2 separate regions of the Homo sapiens genome follow, and region 1 is linked to region 2. The links are contacts of gene promoters, found by promoter capture Hi-C in human tissues and cell types (Jung and others, 2019). All regions are on one chromosome and are shown on one strand. Each heading gives the region's core, a stretch centred on a gene start or on the middle of the fragment in contact. The rest is flanking DNA. Distances are from core to core; before and after follow the strand shown. Region 1 has its middle 34 kb from the start of RABIF. Region 2 holds the start of SYT2 (synaptotagmin 2).

What was found. The method cuts DNA at HindIII sites, captures the fragments that hold promoters and counts their contacts. A contact is called where the count stands out against the background at its distance.
Region 1: a contact is called between a fragment that was not itself captured here and the fragment with the promoter of SYT2 in region 2, in 2 of the 25 tissues and cell types used here (H1 embryonic stem cells and pancreas).

What each region holds. Positions count from the first base shown.
Region 1 is chr1:202,852,328-202,858,297 of GRCh38, reverse strand. It overlaps the pseudogene TUBA5P. Among named protein-coding and RNA genes, the nearest start is that of RABIF, 34 kb to the left of the region's middle. RefSeq lists an enhancer at 4,772-5,271. The HindIII fragment of the contact is 4,898 bases long and covers 1,466-5,970 here.
Region 2 is chr1:202,709,009-202,714,844 of GRCh38, reverse strand. It overlaps SYT2 (synaptotagmin 2), which reads left to right and starts at 4,391. Exons shown (of 9, transcript NM_177402.5): 1 at 4,391-4,587. The HindIII fragment of the contact is 5,475 bases long and covers 402-5,836 here.

The sequences.
Region 1 (5,970 bases), core at 2,665-5,164, 140 kb before region 2:
GTTTCTTCATTAGTCTGTATTCTTTTTTTTTTCTTTTCTTTTTCCATGGTGAAAATTTACATTAGTCTGTATTCTTACCCTATTCGAAAGTGAAGTGAGATTCTCCTTAACACCACTCTGATTCCTCACCTAGCACAATGAAGTCGCTGTAGAGGGAAGGGACCACTGAAGGTGCCACCTGCTCTCCCCGTCTCAAGCCCAGGCAGGACCTGGCCTTAGAAGTGGGTCTCTGGTCGGGAGGCTGAGGCAGGAGAATCGCTTGAACCCGGGAGACAGAGGCTGTGGTGAGCCAAGATCGCGTGATTGCACTCCAGCCTGGGCAACAAGAGTGAAACTCTGTCTCAAAAAAAAAAAAAGAAAGAAAAGAAAAAGAAGATGCCGTGCATCATCACTCTGTTGAGCAGTTGTACCTGGGGAGGCTTAGCAGCAAAGGTTCTGGTGTCTGGCGTTCCCTTGGGGAATGAACCAGCTTGTCTTACCTTTGTCCTTTCTTCCCCTCAAGATGGGGTAAGAACTGACATTTATAGGCAGCTGTTCCACCCTGAACAGCTGATATCTGGCGTGGAAGATGCTGCCAACAACTGTGCCCGTGGCCACTACACTGCGGGGAAGGAGATCATCGATTTGGTGCTGGAGTGAATCTGAAAACTGGTGAGCAGGCCTCTGGCACCTACAGGAGGTCGTTGCATCCTTAACCCTCTTCCTGGCTGGGAGGCAACCACAGCCTGTGCTGGTACCTGACATCATTCCTCCAGCCTGTCAGTCCACTCAGCTTCTCTTAAGGGGATATGTGTTTTCTGTCCTGGGTACGGATCTAGGGTTGGAAGCCTGAATAAACTGCTCTGCCTTGAGTTTGTGGACTCAAGCTTCTGCCCTGATGGTTCCTCGCTTTGCCAGGTCTGTCTGATCCAAGCCTTCTTTGACCTTTGATCCATCTCTACAGCAGCTCAGCTTGTTGTTCTTAGACTCCTATGCAGATCTGTCCAGGTGGGAGGGGCTCCTGTTTAGCACTCAACCATTTCACCAGTTCACCCTTCCCCTATCCGAGGCATTGAGAACCACCAGTGAGGCTGCCTGTGAGCCAGGACTTTGGCCCTGTTGCTGTAGGGGGATTGCCTAGACATACTCTCTGCTGCTCGGTAGAGACTGAGGACTTGGAAGTGACCTGAGGAGTAGGATTCTGTGCTCCCTTCCTCAAGAATGAAAATAAAATACCTCCTAGGGGTAGACTTCTTTTATACTGTCACTACCATGTGTCTGGTATAGACTGATGATTTTCTTACCCAAGAAACAGCTGTATCAGCATCACATGGGGTACTTTTTAAAGCTGCAGGTTCCTGGGTTCCAGTCTGAGGTGAGGCCTGGTAATCTGTATGTTCAACAGGATGCCACCACCACTCCCACTCTGCTGTAACTAGGGGGCAGGGCAACAAAACAGAGAGGGCCTGGCTCTCTGAGTGCAAATCATCCGTCCTTCCTCATCCCTACCATTGCGTATGCACAACACTGCCTTTCCAAGTCATCTTTTCCCTAGGAACTCCAAACCTCCTGTAGGTGATCTTTTTTTTTTTTTTCTTTTTTGAGAGAGTTGCTCTGTCGCCTAGGCTGGAATGCCACTAGTGGTGCAGTCACAGCTCACTGCAACCTCTACCTCCTGGGTTCAAGTGGTCCTCCCGCCTCAGCCTCCTGAGTAGCTGGGACTACAGGTGCACACCACAACACCCAGATACTTTTTGTATTTTTTTGTAGAGATGGGGTGTTGCCATCCCAGCACTTTGGTACGCCAAAGTGCTGGGATTACAGGTGTGAACCACCACACCTGGACAGGTGATCTTTTTTCACCTCTATGGAGGCGAAGCAAAAGGACACAAAGGAACTTTCTCGGGGTGATGGGAATTTCTGTATCTCTGTTGGTTTGGTTATATAGGTGTCTACGCATGTCAAATCATTCATTGTATGTCCAAAAGATGCACACACTTAAGTATAAACTATACTTCAAAGTCTTTCTAAAATACAGAAGTGAATGCAAGTATAGTTAGGTAATAGTAGCTTTCAACACAGAAGCTTCCTCAGGAGAAGAGGGTTGGGACGGGTGACATGCCATCTACATCCTTAATGATGTTATTGCCTGCTCCAGACAGACCAGTGCACCATGCTTCAGGGCTTCCTGATCTTCCATAGTTTTGGGGATGGCACTGGCTCAAGTTGGAATTTGCTATCTACCCAGTCCCCCAAGTGTCCATGACAGTTGTAGAACCCTATAACTCTATCTTGACCACCCACACCACCCTGGAGCACTCAGACTGCCTTCATGGTAGACGAGGCCATCTATGATCTCTGCTGCCACAACCTGCGCCCTACCTATACCAACCTGAACTGGCTCATCAGCCAGATTGTGTCCTCCATCACTGCTTCCTTGTGTTTTGATGGTGCCCTCAACGTGGACCTCACAGAGTTCCAGACCAATCTGGTGCCCTACCCTCGCATCCACTTTCCCCTGGTGACCTACTCACCCATTATCTCAGCTAAGAAGGCCTACCATGAGCAGCTCTCAGTGGCAGAGATCTCCAGTGTCTACTTTGAGCCCTCCAATCAGATGGCCAAGTGTGACCCTCGCCACGGCAAGTACATGGCCTGCTGCCTGCTCTACTGTGGAGAAGTGGTGCCCAAGGACGAGAATGCCACCATTGCCACCATTAAAACCAAGCAAATATTTGTTTTGCGGACGTGTCCCACAGGTTTCAAGGCAAGTGGGGGTAAAGGGCAGTTAGCACATGGCCTGTGTACCTGCTAAGACGGGAGCTTCCTGCAGAGGAGGTGTGAGGAACAAATGCACAGGATCTCACTGTCACCCAGGCTGGAGTACACTGGCGTCATCTTGGCTCACTGCAGCCTCGACCTCCTGCACTCAAGCAGTCCTCCTGTCTCAGCCTCCTCAGTAGCTGGGACCACAGGTTTGTGCCACCACACCCTGCTAACTTTGTATTTTTTTGGAGAGGTGGGGCTTCACCATATTGCCCAGGCTGGTCTCAGACTCCTGCGCATGGGTGATCCACCTACAATGGCCTCCCAAAGTGTTACAGGTGTGAGCCACTGTGCCCCGCTAGAGGATTCCTTTAACTGGATAGGTCTCAGCTGGTCTAGAAGCCAGGCCTTTGGACTGTAAGCCAGCGTGGGTTCTACTTGAAAGATTGCCTTGATGAAAGGAAAAGTATCAATTTCATCTTACTTAGCCTGGTAAAAAGGCGTTCCCTAGGGCTGCCAGTCACATGGGGAGAATGGCCTCCTTGTCACTTGTGCTAGGGACATAACCACGTGCTATAGGCTCCTGCTCAGAAGGGAAGGCTTTCAGAAGCCAGAGAGGCCCATTATCAGATGATGGGGAAAGTGCGGATCAGAAGGTCAGAGGCTTCTTGTGTTCTGCGTCTGGATGCGTTCTCTTCCTTTTGCGGTAATAAGGAAGAAGCACGCATTTATGCCCCACCCTGTTATCAGTTGACCTTCCCAGGGTGCTGGGCATATGACCTAGTTTGTTTTTTGGGTTTTGTTGTGGGATAAGACTCCAGAAAGATTAAAGATGGCAGCTGTGGCATTAGAAAACATATATAGCGGCTGGGCGCAGTGGCTCACTTTGGGAGGCCGAGGTGTCCGGATCACAAGGTCAGGAGATGATCGAGACCATCCTGGCTGACACGGTGAAACCCCGTCTCTACTAAAAATACAAAAAAAATTAGCTGGGCATGGCGGCATGCCCCTGTAGTCCCAGCTGTTGGGGAGGCTGAGGCAGGAGAATGGCGTGAACCCGGGAGGCGGAGCTTGCAGTGAGCCAACATCGCGCCACTGCACTCCAGCCTGGGCAACAGAGCAAGACTCCGTCTCAAAAAAATAAAAATAAAAAAAGAAAACATATATAGCTTTCCTGCCCCATGACACTGCTGTGGACATGACCACAACAGGAGGACAGGCAGGAATAATAGCTGCTTGCTAGTGTGGAAGAGTTGTCCTGTAGCTCAGAAATGGAAATGAGGGGTAGGCTATCTGGGAAACAGACTGTTTCTGCCTCCATATTAGGAAGATCTTTAGCTGCTTAAGGGAAGAATAGGCTGCCTTTAGGACATGGTCAGCTTGTTGTCCCTAGAGACACTAATGGGAAGTTGACTTTTTTTTTTTTTTTTTTTTTTTGAGGATGAGAAACACTAAAATGTATTATATATTCTGGGCTGGGTGCAGTGATTCAGGCCTGTAATCCAGCACTTTGGGAGGCAGAGGTGGGAGGATGGCTTGAGCCCAGGAGTTTGAGACCAGCCTGGGCAATGTGAGACTCCATCTGTACAAAATATTTTAAAAAATTAGCCAGTCTTGCTAGTGTGTACTTATAGTTCTAGCTACTCAGAAGGCTGAGGTGGGAGGATCACCTGGGTCCAGGAGGTTTAGGCTGCAGTGAGCTATGATTGCACCCCCCTCTCCAGCCTCAGCAACAGAGCGAGACCCTGTTTTTTGTTTTGTTTTGTTGTTGTTGTTGTTTTGAGACGGAGCTTCACTCTGTCACCCAGGCTGGAGTGCAGTGGCGTGATCTCAGCTCACTGCAACCTCCGCCTCCTGGGTTTAAGCAATTCTCCTGCCCCAGCCTCCCGAGTAGCTGGGACTATAGGCGCCCGCCACCACACCCGGCTATTTTTTGTATTTTTAGTAGAGACAGGGTTTCACCATGTTGGCTAGGCTGGTCTCAAACTCATGACCTCAGGTGATCCACCCGCCTCGGCCTCCCAAAGTGCTGGGATTACAGGCGTGAGCCACCGCATCCGGCCCCCTTTTTCTTGACTGACTTTGAAGGCACTAGTCTTGTCTTGCAGAAGCTCCCTCATTCTAGACTTGTTTGTTTCCTTGTGGTGGTGATCATCTTCCTCTTTGTTTCTTACAAGTTGACAAATGCCCCTTCCCTAGTTCCAGGGATCCCTGTACAGACCCTTCCAGGAAACACAGAACCAGGCGCTTATACTTCTTTGTTTTTTCTTAGGTTGGCATCAACTACCAGTCCCCCACAGTGGTGCCCGGGGGTGCTGTAGCCAAGGTGCAGCGGGCAGTCTGCGTGCTAAACAATACCACAGCCATCACTGAGGCCTGGGCCCGCCTCAACCAAAAGTTTGACCTGATGTATGCCAAGCGGGCATTTATGCACTGTTATGTGGACAGGGGCATGGAGGAAGGTGAGCTCTCTGGGCCTGAGAGGACCTGGCTGCCCTGGAGAAGGATTATGAAGTAGGCACAGAATCTTTGGACAGCGAGGATGAGCATGAGGAGTTCTAGGGGTCCTGGCACCTGTAACACCTGGTCTCTCGCACCACAGTTGTGTGTGTATCTCATTCCACTGTTCCCTGACCCCCTACAAATACAATGGATATTGCAAGCGATGTGGAACTCTGTGGAATTCTGCCCAGGCAGTGGGCCATCTTTAAGCTTCTCAGCTTCCTTTAATGTCTTTCTAAGTTGAAGGGCAGGGTGGCCTCTGCTGCTAGGGCCTCCAGCCAGGGCATGTCTAGTGGAGGATTGGCACTGCTTCCCTCCTGTGTGAGCGGACCACCCTGACACGCCTTCGCCGGTTCAGCACCCAGGCTGTGGTACTTCAACTTCACAGGGGTCCCTATGTGTACCCCCTTGTCTCCAGCCCAGTTCGAGGAAGAGTAAGCTTTCTAGAGATTCTAATGAAAGCTGCCGAAAGTTTATCTGCCCCCAGCATTCCGGGGCAGAAACTGCAGGACTTCAGTGCCACAAGGAATCAAGCACGTCTAACCACTCCTCCCGCCTGATGGCCAAGAGAGGGCAGTAGAGGTTGCCTTCACAGGCCTCTCCGCAGCAGCCATCTTAGACTTGAGGGCTCTGTCCTGATGCCTTACAAACGCAGGGTCCAAGAAATAGGATTCCAAAAAAAACAGTGGTCTCCAGCCTGGGACTATGAAGATACGAAACAAC
Region 2 (5,836 bases), core at 3,142-5,641:
TTTTCTTTTTTATTAAAACCTAAGATATCATGTAGATTATATGATATATGATAGTTATATTTATCTTTATTTTGCTTATGTTTGATTTCTTTCCCCACATCTGATCAGTTCATGTCTTCTGTATTGAAAGCATTCTGAGGTCAGGCTCAGTGGCTCACGCTTGTAATCCCAGCACTTTAGGAGGCCGAGACGGGAGGATCGCTTGAGTCTGGGAATTCAAAACCAGCCTGGGCAACATAGAGAGACCCTATCTCTACACAGAATTAAAAAATTAATGGGGCATGGTGGTGCACACCTGTAGTTCCAGTTACTAGGGAGGCTGAGGCAGGAAGATCACTTGAGCCTCAAGGCTGCAGTGAGCCCTGATTGTGCCACTGCACTTCAAACTGGGTGACAGAGCAAGACCCCCATCTCAAAATAAATAAATAAATAAATAAATAAATAAATAAATAAATAAAGTAAAATAAAGAAAAGAATTTAAAAAAAGTATATTATGGGATATCTAAAAGTTGACTGTAGAATGAAATATGTTATTATTATTTTTTTGAGATGGAGTTTCACTCTTGTTGTCCAGGCTGGAGTGCAGTGGCACAATCTCAGCTCTCTGCAGCCTCTGCCTCCCGGGCACAAGGATTCTCCTGCCTCAGCCTCCCGAGTAGTTGGGATTACAGGCGCCTGTCACCATGCCTGGCTAATTTTTGTATTTCTAGTAGAGACGAGGTTTCACCATATTGGCCAGGCTGATCTCGAACTCCTGACCTCAGGTGATCTGCTTGCTTCAGCCTCCCAAAGTGCTGGGATTACAGGCGTGAGCCACTACACCTGGCCAGACATATATTATTGAAGAGTAAGTAGTATAATGGTTATAAACACTGAGCAGGGCCTTAGCAAAATAGGTAGCTACTATCATGTGGCTTAGGGAAATGAAAATAGCTCAGTGGAGCTAGAGTATAGGTAGTATAGGGTAATTTAAATAAAAGTTAAAGTATATTTAAGCTTGGTATGTCTACAAAATTAGATTAAAAGAAGAAAACCAAGACCTTTAGTGATAGGAATTGCATGTAATTTTTTTTTTTTTTTTTTTTGAGACGGAGTTTCACTCTTGTTGCCCAGGCTGGAGTACAGTGGCATGATCTCGGCTCACTGCAACCTCCGCCTTCTGGTTTCAAGCGATTCTCCTGCCTCAGCCTCCTGAGTAGCTGGGATTACAGGCACCCACCACCACACCTGGCTAATTTTTGTATTTTTAGTAGAGGTGGGGTTTCACCATGTTGGCCAGGATGGTCTCAAACTCCTGGCCTCGCGATCTGCCCGCCTCAGCTTCCCAAAGGGCTAGACTTATAGGCGTGAGCCACTTTGCCCAGCTGTAAGTTTTAAAGAACCATTTACTCAGTTACAACCAGTAAAGCAGGCGTGTTTCAGAGGAGAGTTTAGTCATTGTTTGCTTAATTGTCAGGAACAATACAAACTGCTCTGGAAGAATAATACGGGTATGTGCAGGGGGTGGGAGGGCAAGAACAACAGCTTTCTGAAGGGGTGTTTGTTTCTGTGTGTATCAAGAGAAAGCAGGAAATGGGAGCTGGCTAGGTCAGCGGTGATGAAGACTCTCTCTCCTGTCCCAGCTCATTTCTGTTTGCTCTAACTATGACAGCAGGGCTTGGAACAAGTTTGCAGGGATGAAGGCCTGACCAGAACATCAGGGAAACAATCCAAGTGTGAGGTAGTGCAAGTGCTAGTAGACCTATGATCAAGGATGGACAAAAAGGGAATTCTTTAAGCAGAAGGTGGGTGGCAGGCAGGAAAAGTACAGGGGCTTTCAGTCCCCAGGGAAAGCTGTGACAGGGGCACGATGCAGCAGCTCCCTGCTCTCTTCTCTCTCCTCCCTAGAAAAAAACAGAAAATGAAGCCACCAGGAAGCACACTATTCAGCAGAAAGTGGTAAAACAATGTAATTGAGGGAGTTGTAGACTTTCTTCCTGAAAAACGCTCAGTGTTAGATAGCTCTCCCCCACCTTTTGTGGGTTCAAAATGACCTTGTGTGGAAGCAGAGGGATTGCCCTGATGGCCCTGCATGTGCATGCAATTGAGTGATGCTGGTCTAAGATACTAGAGGCTCATCTTTCTACAATGATGAACAGTTGAAAAGCAAAGTATCTAATAATAGGCTGGGTGTGGAGGGGGTGGATGTCTTTTCCATTCTTTCCTCTTCCAGCTCCTGAAGCCTGGGGGAATAAGCAAGAGGGATGTTGAGCTCTTGATTAGGTTTGTAACCCAGACACTACTGGTCCTGATGAATTAAAAGAACATTAAGGCTGTAGCCAGCGACACCACATTTTTCATTTAACCAAATTGATTACAGCTCTGACTCTCCTAATAGCCTGGGAAGGCAGGCTGGCTTCCTCTGACGTGCTTAGGAGAAGAAGCTGGGGCACCAGATTGACACAAGGCTTTGATCAGAACAGTAGGCAGCTGAGTCTGCTGCCGTGGAAAAGTTGAAGCGCATCAGGCCAGTTCGCTTGGCTTGATTCTGTGCGAGGGGGCTGCAGCCCTCTTTCTGGCTGGAGTCCTGCAGATACTGGTTGTTGGCATGGGGAGCAGGAAGGAATGAATAGAGTAGAGCCAGCCCCTTTGGGGAAGCAACAAGTCCTGGAACACACCTGGCTAAGGGTGGGGGTGGTGGGTAACCTCTTTGAATGTAAAGGTCTCATTAGTCCATTGTAACTTGGCTCCCCATTTCCTCCACTGCCCTTGTTCTGGCTGCTCCACAGGTGAAGGGGGAGGGCCTCTGTGCCTCAGGGGCTGTGAGCACAGCTTCAGCCTGATTGAGGACTCCCCAGAGGTCTTCCCCCACCTTTTTCGTAACATCCACTGAGTCGGCAGCCACTTGCCGCCTTGCTCTGAGGCAAGCCAAACTGGGGATAGTCTCCAACTGGGGATGGTCTGCCAGTAACACCTGGTATTATTGGCACAGTGATCTGAAAAGTGCCCTCCACTGCCTCTTCTCTCCCCAAAGCCTGAATCCCACTTGTTCTTTGCATCTCCTCATATTGCATTCATTCCACCTCTCACTCACTCACCTAGTACGTATTGAAGACTGACCTCAGGCCATGTACGGTTTTGTACCCAAAAGCGAGGCAGGATGCTACAGTCCTATTATAAAAGTTAACTCCAGGCCAAGCGCAGTGGCTCATGCTTGTAATCCCAGCACTTTGAGAGGCTGAAGTGGGTGGATCCCTTGAGGTCAGGAGTTCGAGACTAGCCTGGCCAACATGGCAAAACCCCATCTCTACTAAGAATACAAAAATTAGCCGGGTGTGGTGGCGCACGTCTGTAATCCCAGCTGCTCGGGAGGCTGAGGCGGGAGAATCCCTTCAACCCAGGAGGCAGAGGTGGCAGTGAGCCAAGATCGCGCCACTGCACACTGCACTGCAGGTTGGGTAACAGAGTGAGACTTGTCTAAAAAAAAAAGAAAAAAAAAAGTTAACTCCAAAAGAGTTAAAGCGGATATTCAAATTGTGCTGTAAGGAAGTTCTGGTGCTGCCCTGGCAGCTCCTGGGTAGGTTAGGAAGGGCTCTGTTTTGCCCTTGCCACCCTTCTCTTTCTCCCAGGCTCTTCCGAAATGCCACCACTTAACTGTCTGCAGCTCCTTGGTCCAACGCACCATTCAGGGACTGTTTCCCCACCTGCAAACTGCCCACGCAAAATGCCCACCTTAAAGGGATGTCTTACGTATTAAGCAAACTAACATGTGTGAACACCCTGTCTTTAATAACCAGTAGCGTCCTCCTTTTCTTTCTACCGTCTTCCAGCTCCTCTCTCCTTGTCACCCTGCAGTTCTTACTCTCCCCTCCGCTGTTCTATTTCCATAGGCCTCAGGCACCGCTGTCTTCTCTCAAGCATCCTCCTCTCTCTCACCCAACCTTTAGGCTCAGAAGCCCCCACCATCCAGGTGGCCAATATAGGTAGCGGTGACCTAAGCGGAGAGGGGAGGAGGGGAGGCTAGGGGCTCAGGGATCCCAAAATGGCCATGGGGATGGGGGCTCCTGAGCCCAATAATTTAGCCTTGAGCTGCAGTGGGTTCGGGAAGTTGGAGAGAAGGAGCTGGCTAGAAAGGAGACCAGCCTTCTGGGGTGGGGAGTATAGAGCTCCTTTCCAGTCCGCCTTCCTGCTGGGGAAGCAGCCTCCTTGACCTTGAGCAGGAGGCGGGGGCGCCGAGCGCCTGGGGGGCTGCGCAGAAAGAACCCGTCCCGGGGGGCAGGCCCGCCCTCCGCCTCCTCCGGGCCTCCTCCGCCTCGGTCCCCGCCCTCCCACGCCGCTTGGTCTCCTCCCCTCACTGCAGCGCTCGCCGCGCGCGCCCATCGATCAGGCCCCCTCCCTCTGCCGCCTCGGCGCAGACTGCTAAGCTCAGCAAGTCTTGCGGCAAAGGCACTTCGGAGCCGAGTTGGGGCAGCGGTGGAGCGGGGACTTCGCGCCCCCAGGGGAACGGGCGCCCCTGCGAAACCGTCGCCAGCCACGCGTCCTTGCCGTCCGACGCCCCCTCACATTGGAGACCCCGGATCTCTCCCGCCTCCTTCGGGTCGCTCTCCGGTAAGTCCATACCCCCGCCGGTGGGGGCACGGACCTCCCTCTCCAAAGTTTCTCCTTTCCTGCTACTGAGTCGAGGGGCCACGGGGTGGTCTGGGTCCCGAGAGGTGAGTAGGGTTGGGGAAGTTTGAGGCCAAGGGGGCCGGGAGTCTGCCCCGTCCTTTGGGGGAGTTTGGAAGCGTCCGGATGGAAGGTTCGTCTCGGGGAGTCGGACCCGAGGGGCGAGGAGCCGGCTCCTCTGAGGGACTGGGGCTGGGCTGGGGGCAGATTTCCTCCCGCGGGTTGCTGCAGAGAGGGGCGGGCCACGCGTCCCCTGCACCGGCCGGCTCTGCGCCCCCGTCCCTCTCTCCTTTCCCTGGGACGAACCCACTCGCGTCTAGCCCAGCCCCCGCCAGCCCTAGCGGTCTCCAAGGAAGGTTCTTTTGCCCCAGTCTCAAGCTTCGGGGACCCCTGGCACCGCCGTCGTGGGAAGTGGGGCGGGGGGTGGGGTCTGGGCGCTGGGAGCCGGAGACCCTGGGTCAGGGAGAGGTTGGGGAGACAGACTGCAGGGGCCATCTGGAAGCAACGGGCACGAGGAGCTGGGGCAGGGGCCCAAGAAGGGGCTGGAGGCGCCCCTCCCCTCTCTCCAAATCTCATGACTCAGCACGACCTAGGACGCCCCGTCCCTGCTTCAGCTCTGTCCCCAAGGGCTAGGCTCGCAGCCTGGCGGGTGCTGACAGCCCGACTCCCTTTTCTGGACTCTTCCATGTACCTTTCCCATTTGGGGTGCCCCCTTCCCCTGCCTATGCTCCTTCCCCCACCTCTGGGGCACAGGGCTTTTATTTTTCAACTAAAAAGTGGAGCTTTATCGTTTCACATCCCACTAAGCCAGGCCCCCTCATCCTGTCTCCTCCCTTTTCATCCCCACATTCCACAGGTGCCTCCAGGACACCCCCAGCCCATGGCTCGTGGGGTGTCTCCTGGCAGGGCAGTGTCCTCCCTTACCCCTGGCTGAGGTGGCAGAGTAGGTGCTCTCCCCGCAGCAGGAGAAGGGAGTGCAAGGACAGAAGAGGTGCTGGCCCAGGAGGGGCCACTGCAGTGGGGAGGGAAGGGCAGAGGCCCCGTGGGCAGGTAGTACAGGTTGAGTTAGCTTATAAGGAGGAGGAAGTCCTTAGGATCTGGGGGCGCCCAGGAAGCCAGAAAGGTGAACTGGGGTCTGACCTGGAAAGCAAAAGGGTGCCCTTCTCCCTCCCCTACTGCTGCCGCCCTGCGG